6 separate regions of the Homo sapiens genome follow, and regions 2, 3, 4, 5 and 6 are each linked to region 1. Evidence: promoter capture Hi-C in 16 types of primary human blood cells and fetal thymus (Javierre and others, 2016). All regions are on one chromosome and are shown on one strand. The core of a region is centred on a gene start or on the middle of the fragment in contact, and the rest is flanking DNA. Distances in the headings are between cores, read along the strand shown.

What was found. Contacts are between HindIII fragments. The CHiCAGO score rates a contact against its expected background, and 5 or more counts as called.
Region 2: the fragment with the promoter of ZFP28 here is called in contact with a fragment that was not itself captured in region 1 in 4 of 17 cell types (neutrophils, naive CD8 T cells, fetal thymus and 1 more); the score reaches 7.8 in neutrophils.
Region 3: the fragment with the promoter of ZNF497 here is called in contact with a fragment that was not itself captured in region 1 in 13 of 17 cell types (non-activated CD4 T cells, naive CD8 T cells, naive CD4 T cells and 10 more); the score reaches 15.3 in non-activated CD4 T cells.
Region 4: the fragment with the promoter of ZSCAN1 here is called in contact with a fragment that was not itself captured in region 1 in 1 of 17 cell types (fetal thymus); the score reaches 5.2 in fetal thymus.
Region 5: a contact is called between the fragment with the promoter of ZNF835 here and a fragment that was not itself captured in region 1, in 11 of 17 cell types (neutrophils, naive CD4 T cells, monocytes and 8 more). The highest score is 10.2, in neutrophils.
Region 6: the fragment with the promoter of ZNF324 here is called in contact with a fragment that was not itself captured in region 1 in 12 of 17 cell types (naive CD4 T cells, total B cells, total CD4 T cells and 9 more); the score reaches 13.9 in naive CD4 T cells.

The regions. Positions count from the first base shown.
Region 1 is chr19:57,472,121-57,475,771 of GRCh38, forward strand. It overlaps ZNF772 (zinc finger protein 772), which reads right to left. Exons shown (of 4, transcript NM_001144068.2): 3 at 3,540-3,651; 4 at 1-2,301. The coding sequence ends at 1,154. Among named protein-coding and RNA genes, the nearest start is that of ZNF772, 3.6 kb to the right of the region's middle. The HindIII fragment of the contact is 6,834 bases long and covers 1-3,651 here.
Region 2 is chr19:56,537,198-56,541,182 of GRCh38, forward strand. It overlaps ZFP28 (ZFP28 zinc finger protein), which reads left to right and starts at 1,751. Exons shown (of 8, transcript NM_020828.2): 1 at 1,751-2,029; 2 at 2,428-2,519. The coding sequence starts at 1,822. It overlaps ZFP28-DT (ZFP28 divergent transcript), which reads right to left and starts at 1,537. Exons shown (of 3, transcript NR_183967.1): 1 at 1,228-1,537; 2 at 454-540. The HindIII fragment of the contact is 11,931 bases long and covers 1-3,985 here.
Region 3 is chr19:58,361,138-58,364,784 of GRCh38, forward strand. It overlaps ZNF497 (zinc finger protein 497), which reads right to left and starts at 1,614. Exons shown (of 3, transcript NM_198458.3): 1 at 1,540-1,614. ZNF497-AS1 (ZNF497 antisense RNA 1) reads left to right here and starts at 1,489. Exons shown (of 3, transcript NR_136527.1): 1 at 1,489-1,615; 2 at 3,399-3,462. It also overlaps the pseudogene RNA5SP473. RefSeq lists enhancers at 901-1,449, 1,179-1,308. The HindIII fragment of the contact is 6,825 bases long and covers 1-3,647 here.
Region 4 is chr19:58,032,745-58,036,564 of GRCh38, forward strand. It overlaps ZSCAN1 (zinc finger and SCAN domain containing 1), which reads left to right and starts at 1,281. Exons shown (of 6, transcript NM_182572.4): 1 at 1,281-1,417; 2 at 3,226-3,267. The HindIII fragment of the contact is 10,205 bases long and covers 1-3,820 here.
Region 5 is chr19:56,669,808-56,673,590 of GRCh38, forward strand. It overlaps ZNF835 (zinc finger protein 835), which reads right to left and starts at 1,950. Exons shown (of 2, transcript NM_001005850.3): 1 at 1,769-1,950. LOC105372473 (a long non-coding RNA gene) reads left to right here and starts at 2,172. Exons shown (of 4, transcript XR_936110.4): 1 at 2,172-2,624. The HindIII fragment of the contact is 4,177 bases long and covers 1-2,044 here.
Region 6 is chr19:58,465,447-58,469,338 of GRCh38, forward strand. ZNF324 (zinc finger protein 324) reads left to right here and starts at 1,634. Exons shown (of 4, transcript NM_014347.3): 1 at 1,634-1,737; 2 at 3,734-3,860. The coding sequence starts at 3,740. RefSeq lists enhancers at 1,365-1,981, 1,982-2,596, 3,015-3,134 and silencers at 1,624-1,673, 1,754-1,883. The HindIII fragment of the contact is 6,014 bases long and covers 1-3,492 here.

The DNA of each region.
Region 1 (3,651 bases), core at 434-2,933:
GAGTAATGGAAACACATGTGGATGTACCTTTAGAAGGGTCATATTCCCTATAGTTTGCTGCAGTTTTCTCATTCCTTTATTAATCTGGGTTTCTGCACCAACTATGATTCCTACCTGGGCCTTCTGGAGGACAGCCAATATCAACTGCCTACTGAAAAATAGACTTCAGAGATCTTGACATGTCCACTGAGTTCAAATTCTCCTCAAGAAGCCTTGGGAATATGAAGTATCTTCTGGGAACAAGGGACGTAATTCATGTTGCTCCCAGACACATTAGAGATTATCACAACAAATGCCCACTGCTTAGGGTGACCTCAATTACACAAAAAATCTTAACATATAGACCAAAAGATTAGGCCTACAAAGACTGGCATTCTTTCCTAGGAGAGCTGAAGCAGTCAAGTAAGTTAGCTTGACACTAGCATAAGAGCTAGTCTTTGCCATCCTACTATCACTTCAGAGATACAGATAGTTGGAGCTCTCACAAAAGCTGTTCTTCCCTTCATACTGGCTTAGCTCAATTCTGTTCTCAACCCAACCCACAAAGCGAACAGAATCCTCAAGATTTCAGATAGTCTAAAAATTAAGGCATTTGTTGCAAAACCAGAATATGAGGCAGCCAATTTCAGGTCAGGTGTCTTGAAGGCTAGAAAAATTCGTCCCAAGTGCCATGTGAGATCAACTATATCCATGAAGGGAAACCTCTGCCAGTGGTCAGCAGAACAAAGCTCCCATTTTTCTGGCTAAAACTGGGTCATGCTCATGCTTAAACCAGTAGTGGGGCAGAAAAAAAGTGAGAATCCTTGATGGCCTCAGGCTACTGATGATTCCCTCCAGGGAAGGGAATAGTACAGAGGTCTGTCTTTTGAAACACATTGGGGTTACTTTGGCACAAGGCAGGACTCTTCCAGCACAAAGACAGATGGCTTCTAACAGGCACTGCCTTGACGAAATTCCAGCAAGAGTCTAGAAAATTCAGCATAGCTCCAGAAGGCTTCCCATATAGCTGGCACTCGGAAGAACCTCCCCAGGGTGAGTGTTTGAGTGTATAAAGTTCTACTTCTGGCTGTCGGCTACACATAAAGGCTATGCTTGGAGCTTCTCTCTGATGTCAGTTATTATGTTGAACAAGGAAACGGAATTATCTCCCATCCTAAGGCCTTTCTCCAGTGTGAATTTTCCAGTGGCGGATGAGGGAAGCCCTCTGCCTGAAGGCCTTCCCACATTCACTGCACTTATATGGCCTTTCTCCAGTGTGAATTCTATGATGCTGAACAAGTACATGTTTGTGGCTAAAGGCTTTTCCACATTCACTGCACACATAAGGCTTTTCACCATTATGAACTCTTTGATGTGCAATAAGGTCAGAGCTTTGGCTAAAGAACTTCCCACATGCGATGCACTCATAAGGCCTTGCTCCAGTATGAACACTCCAATGTTTAATGAGTCTGTATTTGTGACCAAAGTATTTTCCACATTCGCTGCACTCATATGGCCTTTCTCCAGTATGGATACTCTCATGCTGAACAAGTGTAGATTTGTGACTATAGGCTTTCCCACATTCACTGCACTTGTAAGGCCTTGCTCCAGTGTGTACTCTTTGATGTACAATAAGGTTAGAGCTATGATTAAAAACTTTCCCACATATGCCACACTCATAAGGCATTTCTCCAGTGTGGATTCTCTGGTGCTGAGCAAGTATGGGTTTGCGGCTAAAGGTTTTCCCACATTCACCGCACTCATAAGGCCTTTCTCCAGTGTGGACTCTCTGGTGTTGAACAAGTGAGTCTTTGCGGCTGAAGGTTTTCCCACATTCACTGCATTTGTAATGCCTTTTTCCACAGTGAGAGGCCTCCTCACACTTGGTGTTGCTGTGTGGCTTCCACTCATTGTGAGGGGCATGGTGCTCGAAAATGCTTGAGCTGGCTAGGAAGTCCTTACAAGCCTCCCCTGTCACAAAAGACATCTCCATTGATTGCACAGCACAGTTGTTCAGAAGAAAGGGCCTGCTCTTATCACTTCTAAAGGGTTTCTCTCCACTGTGCTGCTTCTGGTGCTGGTGAAGGTTTGCACTGAAGCAGAACTGTTTCCCACACAGCACACACATGTATGGTTTCTGCCCTGGGTGTGTTTCCTGGTGCTCAGCCAAGTGCAAAATGTCTTTTAAGACCAGGCCACATGTCCCACAGGGGTAAGCCTTCTGAGTAGAAGGACCTCCCTTGGGAATCCTGATCTGTGACATTCCTATAGAAAAGCTCTGCTCAAAAGGTATCTCTTCATCCTCCATTCCATGCCAACAACCTGAAAGCAGAGAAATGCTGGTGAAGTACAAATTGACACAGGTGGAAGAGGGGAAGCCTCACTACAAATATGTGTCTAACACAACTAAGACCAAGGTCATAGGACTGTTGTTAGGACAAGGGTCCAAACTCAAGTTCAGCAAATGTGTACTATACGGTAGTTGGCATCTAAATGTCATAGAATGGAGAAGGCCTCAACTGGGAGAGGACAAAGATGTGGGGTACAGCACAAAAAAGAGGCAGGTCTCAAAGTCATTCACAATCAGATTTTCTTGGCTGCTGGGGACAGGTGAGAGTTGTGCAGAAGGTTATGGTCCATACCAAAGAAAATCAAATTGCTACTCAGTAGTTGGTGTTTAAGGACTATTTGGGCTACACATCTCATGAAACACTAAGTACAGGCCAATGCTGGAAGGCACTGTAGAACAAGCCATGGAGAGGAACAGGTGAGACATGAAGGCAGAGGTATGGAACATCCAGAGGCCAAAGGCCAGAGTATGAAAGGCCAGTGGCCTTAGCACTAATACAACTGTAGGCACAAAGAGGCTATGGAATGATATGAACCCAGCCCTGACATCACACCTTTCCCCAGCTCCTACTCACCAGGGTCACTCCCACCTGGAGTCTCTGTGGCAACAGCTAGGGTCATGTCCACCCAGTCAGGTACCCAGGGCTCACTACCCATCACCAGTGAGGCAACTATGTGGGACATGAAAGATGTATGTCCTAAGGGAAAGATAGAACAGCACTGGTCTGGGTAACCCATATAGAAAACTAAATATTATTAAAATAATCTCAGAGTAAGGTCTTGCAGGAATAGTGCAGTGGTCCTAGCAAGTAGCGACCATAATGGTCCCTACAATTCCTGACATAGGCAGGCCACAGGAAATGTCAGCTAAAGGAAGAGCGCAGAATCCCAGGCACAGAGGTGTCATGGATACAGACAGAGGAATTCAGACAGGGAAAGGACAAGATGGATATGACCCACTGGGCTGACAATACAATGCATAACTCCTGAATCCATGCCTGCAAGGCTCTGAGACAGCAAGCGCTGGGAATGCTCAAAAGGAGAAAGTAGGAGTGCAAACAGCCCAAGCCCAGCACTCACAGAACCTACTCCAGGCACTAAGAAATGAGACAGTGTCCACGGCTCTGATGTAGGAAGGACAAAGATGCCCTGAAAAAAAGGGGAAGGGCAGGACCCAGTCCAAGTCACTGGGGTGGATGTGACGGCCTTACCCAGAGAGGCCATAAGTGCAAAGTTCTCCAGCATCACATCACGGTACAGGAGCCTCTGAGCCTCATCAAGGAGCACCCACTCCTCCTGGGAGAAGTACACGAACACGTCCTC
Region 2 (3,985 bases), core at 501-3,000, 930 kb before region 1:
GCATTCATGATAAACAGTTTGCTGTTTGATCATATAGCCTCCAGTGGAATGTTGAGTTGGCCACGATCCCTTTGCCAGCTCTCTACAGCTGTTCTACCTGTTGACATCCTGTGTCATACCCAAGCAGGAAGAAGGTTGTGTGAGATGACAAAAGGCCAGAGTTACATGCCAGCTGTGTCTCTTTCCACACATCCACCAAACCCCCAGCAAATGTGTACTTAAAATTCATTGGTTACAGAGCCACTACTCCTTACAAGGAGACTGGGGAGGTGAGTATTATAAGCTGGGCAGATGGCCACTTGAAGAGCATCAATGTTCTGCTGTGGAAGGAGTGCAAAATAGACACCAGAGAGACCATTAGCAGTGTCTGCCACAGCTATTACATGGCTAGGTCCACCTGACTGAAACTAAGCCTTTTCTATGAGACTGAAGTGCTTTGAGAGAAATGCTGACCTTGTCCTTTCTGCAGCTTGCGGCTTTCAGTCACCCTTGGATTCAGAGATAGAAGTCATCTTAATTCCATCACTGAGGCCAGGAGACCTGAAAGAAATCAATTCAAGAGTAAGGAGACCAGGCGTGCAGTGTGACTGGGCGTGCAGAGGTCAGTGCATCTGTGATGACTGGTGTAACAGCATCACTGCCTGTGAGCCAGCAAGGCCCTTGGCTCCCAGGATGAAGCTCTCCAGTTCTGATAAGGCCCCTGGGGGAGAGACCGGTCCTAAACATGTTCAAGAATAAATCCATCAGCTAACTTCAGACCGTGATTCACACAGGAAGGGAACTTTAAGAGGTCGCCAGGGCTGGTATTTTTGAGACGTTAGGCAGCCCTCTCTGAGGCGATGACAAGTGAATGGCATAAAGGAGCCAGCCCAGACGAAAATTTGGGGTTAGACTATTTCGACCCAGGACGTGCAAATACATAGGTTACAAAATGGAAAATGGTATTTTGGAGGATGGGAGGCCCGTGTAGCCAGAGATAATGGGAGAAGGTGAGGGGGCACCCAAAACAATCCCACAAGCTCTCTACATCCCCCTTCCTAGCCCACACACATCACCCATCAGAGTGATCCTCCGGACTCCGGAGGCCCCCAAGATTGCCTTTCCCTTCCCGGTCGGCAGTGACGCTCCCGCAAGGAGCTGACGCCCAGGCCCTTAGCACCTGTCACAGCCAAGCACCCTTTTACTCCGGCCCTGCGGTCCCACCCCTCGCCGCAAGCCCCGCCTCACCCGGTCTGCCGCTGCGCCTGCGCGACTCCCAGAAGCCTTTGGGGGGTGGGTGTGTAGTCAGAGCGGCCTCTGCTTCCGGCCACACCCAGGCCCAGCGTTGGCCACCACTTATGCGGCGGCTGCGGTCCAGGGACAAGTGAGAGCGACCCGCAGAGGGCAGGACGGACGGGCGTTGCATAGGCCCGGGGCCAAACCGTATCTTGCAACCTGAGCTCCGAGGGCCGCCGCATCCGTCCCTGCTTGGGACTACGCTTCCCAGCGGGCATTGCGCCGAGGCCACGCCCGGTTCCGGCGGCGCTGCCTGCGCACTGGAAGTGGGAAGCGCCGGGCTTCTCTAGGCTGAGGGGCGGGGCGGGGCGGGGCGGGGCGGGGCGGGGCGGGGCGGGGCGGGGCGGGGCGGGGCGGGGCAGCGGGGAGGGGTGGGGAGGGGCGGGGCGCGGCCGGGGGCGGGGCGGCTCCGCGGCGCGGCCCAGTGGATGCCGGGCCATGGGGGAGCGCGCGCGGGGCTGTTCGCTGGGCGTGGCGGGCGGGTGTGGCCAGGGGTGTGGGTCTGTGAGGGACCGGTCGGAAGGGCGTCGCGCGGCCTCGGGTGACATGCGGGGGGCGGCGAGCGCGAGTGTCCGCGAGCCGACGCCGCTCCCGGGTAGAGGCGCCCCCCGCACAAAGCCCCGGGCGGGCCGAGGCCCGACTGTAGGGACTCCAGCCACCTTGGCCCTCCCTGCCCGGGGAAGGCCGCGCTCAAGGAATGGCCTCGCATCCAAAGGCCAGCGAGGAGCGGCCCCTACGGGGCCTGGGCACAGAGGTGAGAGTGACAGGTGTTTGGGGCCGAGCGGACAGGGACGAATTCATCTCGGGATGAGATCTGGGAGGGGGTTGGGCTCTCGGGGACCAGTTGCTGGAGAACTGTGCCCCTGGTCTTTGAAGCTGGTGGAGTGGGAGAATCTGAAGATTTGGAAGCTCAACTGATTCAGAGCAGCAAGCCGCGGTAAAAGGGTGTTGACTTTCCCAGGGTGACTCTAACTAGACGCTTTTCCTGTTTTCGTGCTCCCAGGGAGGAAAAAAACCTATCTCCACGTTGTGGCAGTCCCTAGGCAGGGTAATGATCTGATCCCACCTTTTCATGCAGGAAGGGACGTTTCTAGGCTGGTGATTTGGGACTGTGGTGTAGACCTGGTCTCTAGCTACTCCTTTCTCTTTCAGCTCTGCCTTCCAGGGACACTGCTCTTCCCCAGGAGAGAAACAAGAAGCTGGAGGCTGTGGGGACAGGAATTGAACCTAAAGCCATGTCCCAGGTGAGTTGGCATTTCATCTCTTGTCTCTGAAATGCAGTCTTGCTTTTCGGGACTTAATGTTGCTTATTTTCTTGAAAGTTTTCAGTTTAAGAGACCTGTTTGGGCGCGGGTTTCTATTTCTTCACGTTCTAGTGAAGTGATGGGCTACGGGGAAAAGTTTAAACTGCCCGGGGCCTCGATGCCTGCTTCTTCTTCATCCCAATCAGCCTTCATTCTTGATTGATGAAATGATTCAGCCTCTCCCTTGTACCGCTTTTCTCAGAGGGACTCTGATGGAGGAATTGTGCCCCTTGAGGAACACGGCAGACTCTTCTGCTATACATGGTTTGTTTGGTGACCACTTTGTGCCAGCCACTGAGCAAACCAATAGCTAAGCCCTAGTCCCTGCTCTGGAGCTCACAGCCTGTTGACCCAATGTCAAGGAAACAAGCAAGATTCTAGAATGTGATCATCCTTGGGCCAAGTATTATGAGCGAGGACTACAAGGCGCTCCTGGCTTCCAGCCTCCTGTAGCGGAAGGGTAGGCCTATTTACCAAGGAGGTGATTTTTGAGCCTTGCCTTGAAGGGAGAGAAGATGTTTGGGAGGCACAGTAAAGAAAGACAACATTTTAGGGAGAGGAGGCGCAATATGAAAGGCTTTTCCACTTGATTTTGTGGCTTTAAAACATGCCAGTAAATAGTTGTGTTTGTTTCGGTTGGCTTCTCCTATAAATATCATAGCTAGCTCATTAATAGATGAACCATTTCACTTCCACTGAGGCCTCAAAAAATATATGTACAGATGAACCAGCTTCCAGTTGTCCTACCCAAACTGCTCTTGAGTGGGTTACTGTGATCTTCACATTACCAGATGCAGTGCTCAATTCTTAGTCTTTTTTGACTATCATTGGTATTTGAAATAGCTCAGAGGCTGGCAAACTTGTGCTGGATGAGGCCACAGCAGAAAATATGTTAGGCTTTGAAAGTCCTGCTGCATCTACTCCTTTCTGCTCTTATAGAGCTAAAGTAGCCAAAGACAATATGTAAATGAATGGATGGGCTGTGTTCCAGTAAAACTTCAGTTACAAAACAGGTGGCTACCTATCCCTCAAATAGCTCATCCCTGTCCTTCAATAGGCCCCCTTTTTTCCCTTGGCTACTGGGATCTCACACTCATCTGACTTTCATCTTCCTGACTGCTCAGTTTTTGCCACAGTTCTTACCTCCGTGACTTGAACAGAGTGTGCCTCAGCACTCTGCTCATGGCCCTTTCTTTTTTTGTCTGCATGCTGTCTCCTGGGGATAGTAGCCTGTTCCTTGTCTGTACAACCTACCCACATGGTGGCTCCTCCCAGATTCACATTGTGAGCCCAAACCTCTCCTCTGAGCCGCCGGCCTGTGTATCCTGCTCCACTCCTCTGCCTGAGTGTCTGATGGGTAACTCAAGACAGCCTGTCCAGACCCGAAGTCCTGAGAGTCTCCCATA
Region 3 (3,647 bases), core at 364-2,863, 890 kb after region 1:
AGTGCTAGTATTACAGGCGCGAGACACCTCGCCCAGCCTATGCAACATTCGTAAAATGACAAAATGGTAGAAATGAGAACAGATTACTAGTTGACAAAAAGAGGTTAACGGGGAGCAGAGGTAGGAGGGAAGGGTATGCGGCTCTGTAAGGGCAACACGGGGATCCTTCGTGATGGAAATATTCTGCATCTCAGTTGTGATATTGTACTCTAGTTTTTCTTTCTCTTCTCTTTTTTTGAGACAGAGTCTCGCTCTGTTGCCCAGGTTGGAGTGCAGTGGCGTGATGTGGGCTCACCGCGACCTCCGCCTCCTGGGTACAAGCGATTCTCCTGCCTGAGACTCCCGAGTAGCTGGGATTACAGGCACCAGCCTCCACACCCGCCTAATTTTTGTGTTTTCAGTACAGATGGGGTTTCACCATGTTGCTCAGGCTGGTCTTTAACTCCTGAGCTCAAGGGATCCACCCGCCTTGGCCTCCCAAAGTGCTGGGATTACAGACATGAGCCACCGCACCTGGCCTCTAGTTTTTCAAGATGCCACCTTTAGGGGAATTGGGTAAAGCGTACATAGGGTATGCATTACTTGTTACTGCATGTGAATTTATAATTACCTCAAATCAAAAGTTAAATTTTAAAAAAACGACATCTGATTTCAATAAAAATCCATATTTGTGTATTGAAGTATCAGAAATCCGGGTCCCCCAAGGGCCCATGTTTCTTAAGGCGGAGCCAGGCACCGCTGCCCCTCCATCCTGTGGTGTGCGACCCCGACCCGCCAGCCCCCAGCCGCATCTATCAGGGCTGCCGTCCTGAGTCCGTCCTCGTCGTGGGATAGCATGTGAGCCCCGTAAGGTCCTTCCTGTCGGCCTCACTGCTCCAGCCTCCCCGACGTCCTCACGTCCACGCTGCGTGCCCTTTCTGAGCCTCAACGCCTCCTCCTCACCTCGACATGATCAGAGCCACCTCCCGCGTCAGTCCCAGCGCCCACGCCCCCAACAACGGGCACTTGTCCGACCAGTCACGGGTACTTGTGTCTCCCCCACAACCCCCAAGGCCTAGGCTGGACAAACAAATACGGAGTGGATAAAGGGGAGGAAGCTGCGGCCAGGTGGCGCGAGGCCTGTGCGGGCAGCTCCGGAGGCTGGGAGGCGAGCCCAGCCTGGTGAGCTCCGAAACTACCCGGGGCTGGGGACTGATGAACGAATAAATGAATGTGGGAAGAAATGATGGCGCGGCAGGGCATGAGTGAATGAGTGAAAGAATAAACGAGCAGGAGGAACGATGCCACAGAACTGATCGCCATAAGGCTCGCGTTCACCGAGAGAACAGCAAACGGGAGCCATTTCCGTCCCGACCACGGTCGCCTCTGGCCCGTGCAGGGCCACTTCCGGGCCGCTCTGGACGGCGCGGAGGCCTATCTCTCGGTGGTCCCAGAGGGCCCAGCTCAGGGCCGAGGCCCGTCCTGCCCCGCGCGGCGGGAGTGGTTGGAGCCGGAGGGCGGATCTGTGCCTGGCCGAGGGTGTCCGTCGGCGTCACTCACCGTCCTCGGCCCGCCTCTGCGTCCACTAGGAGCGGCCTGAAAGAGGCCCGCACGCGGGCTCGAGCCGCGTGGAATGGTAGGAGGGCGGGCACCGGGTCTCCTGGGGGCGCGGTTGCATTCGGCAGAGCGGCCCAAGGCGTCGCGTTTCTCCCCACTGCGCCTGCGTAACTATGCCGCGGCTGCGGGCGCGCGCCTTCTGGTTCCCATGGGGACGGCGCCACAGCCAAGCTACTCGGGCGTCCTGCGTTGCCATGGATGCGCTCCGCCCCTTCCTGCACCCGGCCAGCCTCTGCGGCACACACCCAACAGCTACACAGGCGCCTGGGGCTGCCCGGGTCGCGGACGCAAGTCGGGCCAACGTAGCTTCTCCCTGGCGGTCCTCCTCCGGCCCCAGGCCGTCTTTACCACCCTGGAACCTTGCTGAGTTGACGCCACTGAGCTGCGTCTCACACCCACGCGCTGTGGAACACCCACCAAGCTGGAATCCACGCGGTTTTTAAAATAGAGTCGGGGGCCGGGCGCGGTGACTCACGCCTGTAATCCCAGCACTTTGGGAGGTCGAGGCGGGCGGATCACGAGGTCAGGAGATCGAGACCATCCTGGCTAACACGGAGAAACCCCGTCTCTACTAAAAATACAAAAAATTAGCCGGGCGTGGTGGCGGGCGCCTGTAGTCCCAGCTACTCGGGAGGCTGAGGCAGGAGAATCGCTTGAACCTGGGAGGCGGAGCTTGCAGTGAGCCGAGATCGCGACACTGCACTCCAGCCTGGGGCGACAGAACGAGACTCCGTCTCAAAAAAAAAAAAAAAAAATTGAGTCGGGATCTCAGAAGCTAAGCAGGGTCGGGCCTGGTTAGTACTTGGGAGACCGTCTGGGAACACCGAGTGCTGTTGGCTAAAATAAATAAATAAACCGGGCGCGGTGGCTCACGCCTGTAATCCCAGAACTTTGGGAGGCCGAGGCGGGCAGATCACGAGGTCAGGAGTTCGAGACCAGCCTGACCAACATGGTGAAACCCCGTCTCTACTGAAAATACAAAAATTAGGCTTGTTGGCGTGTGCCTATAATCCCAGCTACTCGGGAGGCTGAGGCAGGAGAATCGCTTGAACCGGGGAGGCAGAAGTTACAGTGAGCTGAGGTCGTGCCACTGCACACTCCAGCCTGGGTGACAGAGCAAGACTCCGTCTCAAAAAACAACATAGACCAGATGCTGTAAGCTAAAATAAATGAATAGCTAGAGACGGGGTCTCGCTATATGGCCCAGGCTGGTCTTGAACTTCTGGGCTCAAGTGATCCTCCCACCTTGGCCTCCCAAAGTGCTAGGATTACAGACCCGAGCCACTGCACCCGGCCTCCACGAGCTCTTTTTGTACCAATTTTTCCCAATTTGTACTAGGGAGCTCTCACCTCAGCCCAGGTGGTTTGGGCAGGTGTGGGTACATGGCCCAGGTCCACAGCACAGGGCAGTCCATCCCTCTGGCCCTGGCAGTGGTCACTTTGGACCTGTGAGCATCGTGGGACTTCTCTCTGAACTGTTAGGGCCTCTATCTGCTTTGAACCTGAGGCTGTGAGCATCTGTCAGCTGGGGCAGCTGCAGCCTTCTTGCCCCGCTGAAGGATGAATCTGTTAAGAGAATGGAGTCCATACAGAAAAGCAGAACTGAGGGATGGTGTGTTAGTTTCCTGTGGTTATGCAGCAAATTACCACAAATTTGGTGGCTTAAAACAGCAGAAATATATTCCCGCCCAGTTCTGGGGACCAGAAGTCTAACATCGATATGACTGAGCTGAAACAAGATGTTGACAGGGCTGAGCTCCCTCTGGAAGCTCTAACGTAGAACCTTTCCTTGCCTTTTTCAGCACCTAGAGCTGCATTCCATGTATTCCTTGGCTTTTCGTCCTTTCCTCCATCATCAAGTAACTGGTAACATCTTACTATTTCTCTCATTAAGTTAAAATATTTAACATATGTTCATTTTATCTTATTTGCATGAGAGTCAATTTTAGCTTTAAAAAAATTTTTATTGGCCGGGTGGGGTGGCTCAGGCCTGTAATCCCAGCAATTTGGGAGGTGGAGGTGGGCGGATCACCTGAGGTCAGGAGTTCGAG
Region 4 (3,820 bases), core at 31-2,530, 560 kb after region 1:
GTCCCAGAGCTGAGGACCCTCCTTGCATCATGATCTCACCCCCACCTGATTTCAGATACAAAACGAGTATCTGTGGAACCCTACTATTCTGGCACATGGTTACATTGTAGACATTAATATTAAAACTTATTTATATGAAATGTTCTTATGTAAGGTTTCGTTAAAGTATATGAAATATAGGACACATTGATACTAATTCCTTGTTTTTCTTTTTCTTTCTTTCTTTTTTTTTTTTTTTTTTTTTTTTTGAGACAGAGTCTCACTCTGTTGCCCAGGCAAGGCTGGAGTGCGTTGGCAGGTCTCGGCTCACTGCAACCTCGGCTTCCCCAGTTCCAGCGATTCTCCTACCTCAGCCTCCCGAGTAGCTGGGATTACAGGCACGCACCACCATGCCTGGCTAATTTTTGTATTTTTAGTAGAGACGGGGTTTCACCATGTTGGCCAGGCTGGTCTGAAACACCCGACCTCAGGTGATCCGCCTGCCTCGGCCTCCCGAGTTCTGGGATTACAGGCGTGAGCTATCGCGCCCGGCCTCCTTGTTTTTCTTGAGTTTACATATAACTGAGGTTTCTTTTTTCTTTCTTTTTTTTGGGGGTGGGGGGACGGAGTCTCGCTCTGTCACCCACGCTGGAAAACTGGAGTGCAATGGAGCAATCTCGGCTCACTGCAACCTCCGCCTCCCCGGTTCCAGTGATTCTCCTGTCTCAGCCTCCTGAGAAACTGGGATTACAGGCATGCGCCACCACGCCCAGGTAATTTTTGTATTTTTAGTAGAGACGGGGGTTTCACCATATTGGTCAGGCTGGTCTCGAACTCATGACCTCGTGATCCGCCTGCCTTGGCCTCCCAAAGTGCTGGGATTACAGGCGTGTCACCGCGCCCGGCCGACGTCCTGTATTTTTATTTGCTAAGAGTGGCGATCCTAGTCTGGGACATACTTGTACTAAACATATTTATATTAAAAACAATGTTTTAACATACTACTCTTGGACACTGTATAAAACGGTTGCGTGTCTGGAATGCCGTCGTTTTGCCCCGCGGCCCCATCGTACATGCGCATCCCCGCAGCCGCCACCGTCTCCACTTTCCGCAGCAGCGTCCCTGACGCTGCGCGACCCGTTGCCAAGGCGACTGGAACCGCGGCCCGAGGTAACTGGAGGGCACGGCGGGGGCGGGGCGCTCATCCCAGGCGGCTTCTGATTGGCCTCGGCCGCCTCGTGCGTCACAGCCCCGCCCCTGCCCGGGAGTCCCGCAGCGGTGACTTGTCACCGACGCCCGGCGTGATCCAGCGGACCAATGGCGGCCGCCCGCGGCGCGCAGGGTGCGGGGATGGGGTCCGCCCGCGGCGTTGGGCGCGCTCGCCAGCCCAGGGGTCGCCATGACCGAGTGGCCCAGGCCCGAGCGAAGCCCGCGCGCGGTGAGTCCGCCGCGGCCCATCCGTCCCTCCGCCCGCCAGAGCGTCCATCGGGACGCCCACCCGGGAGGGTCTCGGCGCCGCGTCGGCGGGAGCTGGCCCGGGATCGCGGTCCAGGGGCGCGCGTCGGGGGAGGCGGGCCCGGGCCCGGGAGGGGGCGGGCCGGGCCGGGGTTCCAGAGCCCATCGGGAGTCCTGAGGTCGCCGTAGGGGAGGGAAGGGGAAGGCTAGAGGCCACGCGGGGCGGGGACTGGGGGGGCTGGGGCCGCCCCTTCCGCAGGGACCCCGACCCCTGTTGGCATCCGCCTGTCCGTTTGAGGCCGAAGCCCCTCTACGTACCCCCATTGCCCGCCCAAACACCGCTCGGCCGCGTCCAAGTTCTCCCTTCCACACCTGATCAGCATCCCGGGACCTATCTCCCTCCTGAACAGCCGCCCCCGGACCCATCTCCCTCCCTACCCGGCCCCTTGGGCCCATCCCCCACTGGAACAGCAGCCCCCGACCCGTCTCTCTCCCTACAAGCTCCCCCTCCCCGCCCCAGGCCCATCTCCCTCCTGAACAGCCGCCCCCGACCCATCCCCCACCCAATCACCCCACCATCCTCCCCCCAACCAGCCGTCCACAGCCGTCGTCGCTGCCCCTCCCCTGTATTCCCAGTGCGCTGCCCTTGCACACTTCCCCAGCTCGTTTATTATGGAACTCCTCCGTGTGGCATCCTAAGCTCCCAACGCCCTCCCCACTGTAAGCCCCCTTCTCAAAGCCAGAACCATTCACTGACTGGCGCAGTGAACACGTCTTCTATGTCACTAAGCATCCGGCATCAGCGGCAAAGCCCTTCTGCCCATCCCCGCAATAGAATTTGGGGCTCGGGCTGCAGATCTCAGTGCCCATGCCAGGTGAACCTGGCCCTTCCACAGGCACTGAGCCCTCCAAGTGACACTCTCTCACACACACACATCCCCAACATTAATCAGAGACCCCTACCAAAGTAGACTTCTAGGACCCCAGGGCCACCACAGCATTGCCCATGGGGGGGCCCAGATCCTCCTCACCAGCCATGTAGACCTCAGTCCCCTTCACATCATCCCAGGCCCTCTTCATCTTCCAGAAACAGCCACCCATCAGTCCAGGACTCTCATCAGCTCAGGTACCCCCACATTGGCCTAGGTGTTCCACATCAGCCCCCATATAGACCCCAGACACACCCATGGACCTCTGGTGCCTTCTGCTAAGACCTCCTCTTTACCCTCATCCCTGATAAACTTAGCATCTCCTCCCACAGACCTCAGCCCAGGACCCTGGAGGATGCTGAGGGGCTACAGCCCCCCTCCCTAGAGTCTCCAGGGTGAGCTGCCATGAGCACCTGAGAGAGTATAAGGTCTGAGGCCCCAGGGCAAAGGGATTTCTTGAACCTGTGGAGCTTCAAAATAGGCCCTTTTTTCTTATTCAAAACTACATATATAAAAGTGTGAATACAACATAAGAGAGCATTTTTGCCTGTGGCCTTGGCAGGGAAGACCAAGCTGGTAGTTTCCCAATCAGGGTGCAGGTGGCCGGGTACGCTGACTCGAAGATGGCTGGCTGGGCACAGTCCCCGTGAGTTGCCTTTCTGCCACCCTGCACCTCTCCTTTCTCCTGGATTGTAAAACCAGATGCACGAGAACTGCAGAGTGTATGAAAAATGCAGCAGAGGATGAAGAGGGAAAAATCCCATGGAATCCCTCCTTTTCACTTGTCATAAGCATTTCCCATATGGTCAAAAATCCTTCCTAAAGATGTCTTGTTTTGTTTTGTTTTTCCATGTTGATGAAGGTCACATGGGAGCCCGACACCATTTGGAGGAGATTCAGAGAAGTATGAACAGCACAAAGCACTTGGCCGCCCCCCATGGGCGTCTTCCCAGGACTCCCTTTCTATGACACTCACGCATCATCCTGCATCCCACGTTCCCTGTGCCTCATGTCATCTGTACATCATGTGTCTACTCCCCGTGGTCATGTCATAGTGTTGTGTACTGGGCACGGTTGAATACTCCCATCACATGATGGGGGAGGTAGTTGATCCCACCACGTTCAACTGTTGGGCACTTTTGTAGTGAATCTTGGTGCCTGAATCTCGCATCTTGCACGCAGTCTACCAAGTGTTCTTGATATATAAATGGCCACAGTGCTTTCCAGAAAGGTCGTGCCAATTTATATTCTCACCAGCGGATCAGTCCAGAGTACAATTGTTAAAGACAAACAAACGAAACCTCCCTGCTTATTTTTATTTTTACAACTTTTAATGTTTTCTTCAGTTATATGTTCACCATAGTCGGCTTGGAAAATGTACAAAAGGTAACTTCTTTTTTTTCTTTTCTTTTTTTTTTTTTTTTTTGAGACAGAGTCTTACTCTGTCGCTCAGGCTG
Region 5 (3,783 bases), core at 700-3,199, 800 kb before region 1:
AATGTACTTGGGGGCCTATCAGGAGTCCTCCATTAGCATAAATGTACTTGGGGGCCTACCAGGAGTCCTCCATTAGCATAAATGTACTTGGGGGCCTATCAGGAGTCCTCCATTAGCATAAATGTACTTGGGGGCCTATCAGGAGTCCTCCATTAGCATAAATGTACTTGGGGGCCTATCAGGAGTCCTCCATTAGCATAAATGTACTTGGGGGCCTACCAGGAGTCCTCCATTAGCATAAATGTACTTGGGGGCCTATCAGGAGTCCTCCATTAGCATAAATGTACTTGGGGGCCTATCAGGAGTCCTCCATTAGCATAAATGTACTTGGGGGCCTATCAGGAGTCCTCCATTAGCATAAACACAGGTGTGGTTGCAGGGGGCTTATTAAGAGTTGCAGAAGACACTCCTTCTACCCCTGTCACTCAGGAAATTCCAAGGGTTTTAGGGGCTCTGGTACCAGGAGCTGGGGATAAAGATTAAACATATATTTCTTATTATATCACAAGATCACAGGAAGACACATGCATTACATCACACTCTGACACACACAGGGTCATACACAATCATACCTGCCCAGACACACACAGACATGCAGAGACACCCAAACCCATATCCAGGGACACACAGTCGCCCTCCTAACCCCCATGCAAGGAGGCAGGTGGGAAGCCATCACCTGCAGCCACACTCACACATGCACACAGGGTCCCGGGCACACGTAGCTACACACACACCCAGCCCCACACGTAGCTCCCTGTGTGAAGAGGTGCACAGAGACGCACAAGGTCACACATGCCACCTGCTCCACACAGGCCGGCCATTACTGGGACACACCCACAGGGGATGGCTGGACACATGTGCAGTCACACTCGGTGGATAGAGCTCCAGCATAGCCAAAGCCCACATGTGCAGCGTCTCCATCATGTGCAGATGCACACACTTCAGACAGCACGGCACTCTACAGGCTCGCACAGCCAGGTCACCCATCATTGTGCTGGCAGGCACACGGGCCGAGCCAGCCTACACGGCGGCACACCCAGACATGCACACGTGGGGTCACACACCTCACATCCAGGAGAACTTTCAGACTTGCCCAAAGGCAGCCACACGTGTATGTGACATGCTGTGATATGCAGACACCGCTTCACATGAACGAGCACATAACACACCGATAAAGTGTTACATGCCTTTACCTGCAGTCACCTGCCTGGGCTGGCACCACTGAGTGAGCAGGTGCAGACACAGTGACACTCGGGGACGGGCTCACAGGCAGTCACACACCTGCAAGGCCTGGCACCGCCGAGTGAGCAGGTACAGACACAGTGATGGGCTGGCACCGCCAAGTGAGCAGGGGCAGACGCTGTGACACTCAGGGACGGGCTCACAGGCAGTCACACACCTGCACCTGCTGGTACCGTCGAGTGAGCAGGTGCAGACGCTGTGACACTCAGGGACAGGCTCACAGCCAGTCACACACCTGCACGGCCTGGCACCGCCAAGTGAGCAGGTACAGACACAGTGACGGGCTGGCACCGCCGAGTAAGCAGGTGCAGATGCAGTGACAGGCTCACAGGCAGTCACACACCTGCACCTGCTGGTACCGTCGAGTGACCAGGTGCAGACGCTGTGTTACTCAGGGACGGGCTCACAGGCAGTCACACACCTATACGGGCTGACACCGCTAAGTGAACAGGTGCAGACACAATGGCACTCGGGGACGGGCTCACACGCGGTCACACACCTGCAGGAACACGCGCACACTACACACCGTTGCTCTCGCCTCCCGGTATCACCTTCGAACGCGCTGGCCGGCCCCCTCCTAGCCTGGTGCAGTCGGCTCCGCTTCTACTCAGTCTCGGGTCCTCCTGGGCCAACGCAGACCCTGGTGCCTCCTTCCTTAGACGAGCTAAGGTCAAGACTTCTGCTGCTGCGGAGGAGCCCGCGCACCAGGCCGGGGTGGACTGCGCCTGCGCATCGGGCCCGCCTGGTTCTTAGGAACTACGACTCCCAGGGGGCGCTGCGCGCTCGCCGGCACCGCGACTAAAGCTTGCAAAGCCTGGGTCATCGAAACTACAACTCCCAGAAGGCTAAGCGTCTGCACACGCTAGGTCCGCAGGGCGCTGACCCCTGGGGGCCCGAGGAGCGCCGGGCTGCTGCCCCGAGCCCCGCCCACTACAGCCTCAGTGCATGGCGGTGGGCGCTTCCAGTAACTCAGGGGTGGGACTTTTTTCTTGCTCAGGGGATGAGGCCGAGCCCACAGGCTTAGAAAGAAGGAACTTGAGTCCGGGCACCTGTCATCCCAGCGCTTAGGGAGGCCGAGGCGGGTGGATCACCTGAGGTCAGGAGTTCGAGACCAGCCTGGCCAATATGGCGAAACCCCCGTCTCTACTAAAAATACAAAAATTAGCCGAGCATGGTGGCATGCACTTCCAGCTACTTGGAAGGCTGAGGCGGGAGAATGGCTTGAACCTGGGAGGCGAGGGTTGCAGTGAGCTGAGATCGCACCACTGCACTCCAGCCTGGGTGACAGAGCGAGACTTCGTCTCAAAAAAAAAGAAGAAGAAAGAAGGAAGCTGAGGTTCAGACAGGCTAAGTCCCTACTGCAGGCTGCGGAATCTAAAAAGGTAGGTGCCAGGGTTTGCAACCCACACTTTTATTTTGGTCTCAGGTAGCTGATGTCATTCCAGTCTATGGCAAAGAAGGTGGCAAATCCATTAACATAGATGAAGAATTTCATTTTACTTTTTAGTTTTATTTATTTATTTATTTTTATTATGTATCATGCTTTTAATACAAACTTTAAAAAATCTGGAACAATAGAAACTGTACAGATTTGATCAATCTTTTTGTTTTGTTTTTAAACTAAAATCTCTAAACACACCAATGTCCTATTCCAAAATATTGCACAACATTCTGAATACAAAACCCTTGATTGTATTCCTCCTTCACTGAAGAAAAAACTTCATGACCCTGCTCCCCGGGCTCCTCTCCAGGCTTGCGTCAATGCCCCCTTCCCATCCCTAGGGAGAAAACTAGAGAATCTATAACTCACTGCATTGAGAAAAAGACATCATTCTGGACTAACAGTTTCCATTCTTCAGAAGATAATCCACCTTTTGATTTGTTCCTGGGAAACAGGGATAGATAGAGGATGGGGAAAGGGGAGAAAAGGTTTTATTTCTCCTCTTTTTTTTTTAAAGTTTGTTTTTCCTGAAAAAATATGTTTCTCTCATCTTTTTAAGAAAAAATCTTGAAAAGAAAAAAATTGTTTTTACGTTAGAAATATACATATATTATATATACCTCTTACATTTTACAAATGTAGCAAATTATTCAATACAAACGGACACCAAAAAATGTAAAAAATAAAAAAAAGTTTTCCTAAGAACCAGGTAAATTAGTGCAGATTTCTGTTTTTGTTTTCTTAAAAAAAATAAAATTGAAGCAAAAGTGCCTAGATTTGAGACAAGACAGACTGAACTGGGCCCAAGAGCCCAGCACTGGAGTCATGCTCCTGAACACACATTTTTCTTCGTATTTCAAAAGACACAAAGGGGTTGGTCTCCCCCCCTCTCCCTACATGTGAGAAACAAGCAGACCTGGTGTGGGTGGGTGCCTGTGTGTGTGGATGGGAGGAGGGATAGAAGGGGATGTAAGGCAGCATCCAACCTTTCCCAGAGAGAAGCTATCTGCTGGGCCTGTCACCTGTGTGGGAGCCGAGGATGAGGGAAAGGGTGGCCCAGACTGGGCTGGCCCCTGAGAAGTCTAGGGGAACAGATGGTG
Region 6 (3,892 bases), core at 384-2,883, 990 kb after region 1:
CTCAGGGTTTTTGTTTGTTTTTTCCTGAGACAGGGTCTCTCTCTTACCCAGGCTGGAGTGCAGGGGCTCCATCATAGCTCACTGCACACTCCAACTCCTGAACTCAATCCTCCCACCTCAGCCTCCCATGTAGCTGGTATTACAGGCATGCAAGACCATGCTCAGCTAATTTTTATATTTTTTTATAAAGATGGGGTCACATTTTGTTGCTCAGGCTGGTCTCAAACTCCTAGGCTCCAGTGATCGCTCACCTTGGCCACCCAAAGTGCTCAGATTCCAGGTGTGAGCCACTGCGCCCAGTCCTGAAATGTTCTTAAATTCTTTCAAAGTAGCAAAATTTATATTAAAACATTCCAAACATGATGAGCTCCCTTGCTCTACAAGGATTTACAAGTAGAATCAATTAGGTGGACAGTTATAGCTGACAGTTGACAGAGAGATAGTTATAGATGGAGGTAGGTATAGAGGGAGGGAGGCAAAAAGAGTTAAGGAACTGGACAGCTGAGAACTGTCTACAGGTTCCAAAAACAAGACAAAGAACCTTTTATTATCTGCCAAACAAGACAGTCTACATTGAGACTGCTCTGCCTTTCGTTTTTATGTGTCAAAGACACTTAAATTGGCCTGTAATCCCAGCACTTTGGGAGAACGAGGTGGGCGGATCACCTGAGGTCAGGAGTTCAAGACCAGCCTGGCCAACATGGTGAAACTCCATCTCTACTAAAAAATACAAAAATTAGCCAGGCATGGTGGCGCACACCTGTGGTCCCAGCTACTACGGAGGCTGAGGCGGGGGGATCACTTGAACCTGAAGGCAGAGGTTGCAGTGAGCCGAGATTGTGCCACTGCACTCCAGCACGGGCAACAGAACAAAGACCCTGTTAAAAAAAAAAAAAAAAAACTTAAATGAGTCCCAAGAAAAAAGGAAAAAAGAATGAATATTGTGATGTGTGGGGCAAGACAAGATCTAGATGGTCTAAGGACAAGCAAATCTGGGGAATTAACTTCTGCCCATCCAAATTACAAGGAAAACAGATGCTTTGGGCAAGTGTCGAGGAACAGTCTCATACTTAAGACAAATGTAGGCTTACGGGCTGAGAATTCTTGGTGTAAAGGTTGAAAACGGACCTTAAACCTTTACGGGACATTGACACAGAGAGGTCAAACCCGCGCCCAGGACGCACAGTCAGTGAGAGGCAGAGCTGGGAAGGGAACCCGGAGCTCCAGGCATCGGCTCCTCCACCTCCACCTGCGCTACCCGGTGCATTTTCTCCTCCGTGCTCACTGCTGGTGTTGCCTCTTGGAACCTCGGCAGTTTCTGCTTTCGCACCTGCAGGGTTTAGTCTCCGGGACTGCTTGGGAGGACACCTGGAATGCCGAAGGCAGGACTACACACCGGGCGAATCCACCAGCGCCACCAAGCCCTTGAAAACCCGAGGCCGCCGCGCGACTCCATTTCCCAGCGCCCCGCGCGGCAGGGGCTTGGACGTTGCCAAGGAGACCGGTAGTGGCCCCGCCTCCACGCAGGGAAACAGGCGGGAACCACGTGACCCGGAAGGCTGTACGCAAGCGTCCGCGGCGCGCACTGGGCCAATGAGAACCGAAGGGCTGGACTTCCGGCGGTGGGACTGTCACTTCGCCGCCCGCGTCAGGCCACACCGGTGGTCTGGGCTGGGGACCGCGGGTCGGGTCCGGTTTCCAGGGGGTTCCTGGTGCTCGAGGCTGGCGGCGAGGAAGGTACTGGCTGAGGGCCCGCGTCGGGCCCGCCCTGCGCACGCGTCGTGATCAAGGGCGCCGGCCGCCGGCCGCGCCCCCAAGCCTCTGTTTCTCAGAGTGCGTCGTGGGCGTCCAGGGGACTGTCGGGCCGCGGCGGGAGCCATGCGCTCTCCCACCGTGCGGCAGCCCAGGAGGCTGCGCGCTGGGCGTTCCACGTCCATGATGGCCGGGGAGACTGAGGCGCGGGGCGGCCCCGGGACGCTGCTGGCGGGGAAAGGCTGGGTGGTCCACGCCTTTCTTCCCTCCCAGCTGCGGGTTCCGCTGGCGGCGGTGGCGCTGACAAGCCCGCGTCGGGGAAGCAGGGGAGTCCCTGCTCACACAGACCGCGCCCTCACGGAGGGAGGCCGCTTCCTAGACCTCGCCTAGTCGTCTTTCCTCTCCCTGCCCTGGGGGGGTTGCGGGGGTCAGTGCAAACTCCTGCGTCCAGGGCACTGGTGAGCTCCCGAGTTCGGGCAGCCAGGGGGCTGAGGTCCCGAAGGAGGCTCCGAGGGGAGAGTCCTGCGTGTGCAAAACCTGGGAGGGGAGCCGAAGCCCAGGTGCTTCTGGGACTGAGCTCTCTCGATGTGGAGCTGGAGTAGAGGGGATGTGTGCGGCTGCAGTATCAGGCGAGGGAGTGGGCTTTATCTCGAGGGCGTCGGGAGACATAGAAGTTTTGAACAGAATCAGGACATCCTCTGAGGACTTTAAAACGGTTCCACCGTTTGTTGCGTGGAGAACAGACATGCAGGGGTGTCGGCATGAAGGGAAGAACCGACTGCCACAGTCTGGGCAGCAGTGGAGGTGGGCGACCAGGTGAATTCTGGTGGATCTGCGGATGCATCAGGTGTGGGCTGTTTGAAGAACTAAGTACCCCATGTTGTTCAGCCTGAGCGCCTGGAAGAAGAGAGCTGCTGTAGATAGAAAGGAGAATTGAAAGGAAAGCAGGTTTCCTTCAGGGGAAAGATCAAGAGTCTGGGATGTCCCAGGTTGGTCATGTCACTGGACCTGACGTTGTTGGCGTCCTGGGCTGTGGACAGGGCCTATGAATTGGACTGAGGAATGGGCAGGGACTCAGCCAGGTGTGGGCAGTTATGGCTTGAGGGTAAAGAAGACCAGCTGGGATGCCTGGGGCTATTGGGAAGAGCCTAGCACCTAACTGAGGAGGGGAGGGTGGCAACAGAGAGGGGAAGAAAGGGGACACCGGGTGAAAGGAGGAAGGGATTGAGTTCCTCTGTGTTCACAGGTTGTTGAGGCTGCTCCCCTGTGGCGACTGGTGAGAATCATCCAGTCCCTCAGGCTGGATGAGCAGCCTGGAAATGTCAGGCAAGCAGGCTCAGCAGGGGAGGGTCCCAGTGATGGGTATGCCTGGGAAGCCCCTGCTGGGACTCACAGTTTCTTGCTACAAGAGCAGGAAGGGTGCATCTGGGGAGGGTCATGAGTGGTCATGCTGAGTCACGAGTGGACACCTGGGGCTGCTCTTGGTGTGGCAGCTGAGGGCCCAGCCAGGACTTGTTCTAGCTTGCTTGTGTATGGCGTTGCCAGTGGGGAGGCCAAGAAGGCATCTGGGGTCTGGTCAGGGAGGGCAGAGGGGAGGGGTCCCAGACATGTGAGGGAAGTGCCATCTGAAGATGGTGGGGGCAGAACCCAGGGAAGGAGGGTGAGTGTCTGAGGGACATCATGGAAGGTGGCTGTTGGGATGGGGAGCTTGGTCCTGGCTCACAGCCATACCTTAAACTAAGCTTGTCCAACCCACTGCCCAGGATGGCTTTGAATGCAGCCCAAAACAAGTTCGTGAACTTTCTTAAAACATGAGATGTTTATGCAATTTTTATTTTTTTTAGCTCATCAGCTGTTATTAGTGTTAATGTATTTTATGTGTTGCCCAAGACAATTCTTCTTCCAATGTGGCCCAGGGAAGCCAAAAGATTGGATAACCCAGCCTTAGACCATGGCTGTCTCTTCCTCCCTGCTCTTTTAGGACCAGATGGCCTTTGAGGATGTGGCTGTGTACTTCTCCCAGGAGGAGTGGGGGCTCCTGGACACAGCCCAGAGGGCCCTGTACCGCCGCGTGATGCTAGACAACTTCGCACTTGTGGCCTCGCTGGGTAAGGTCCTAGATACTCCATGAAATGGGCAA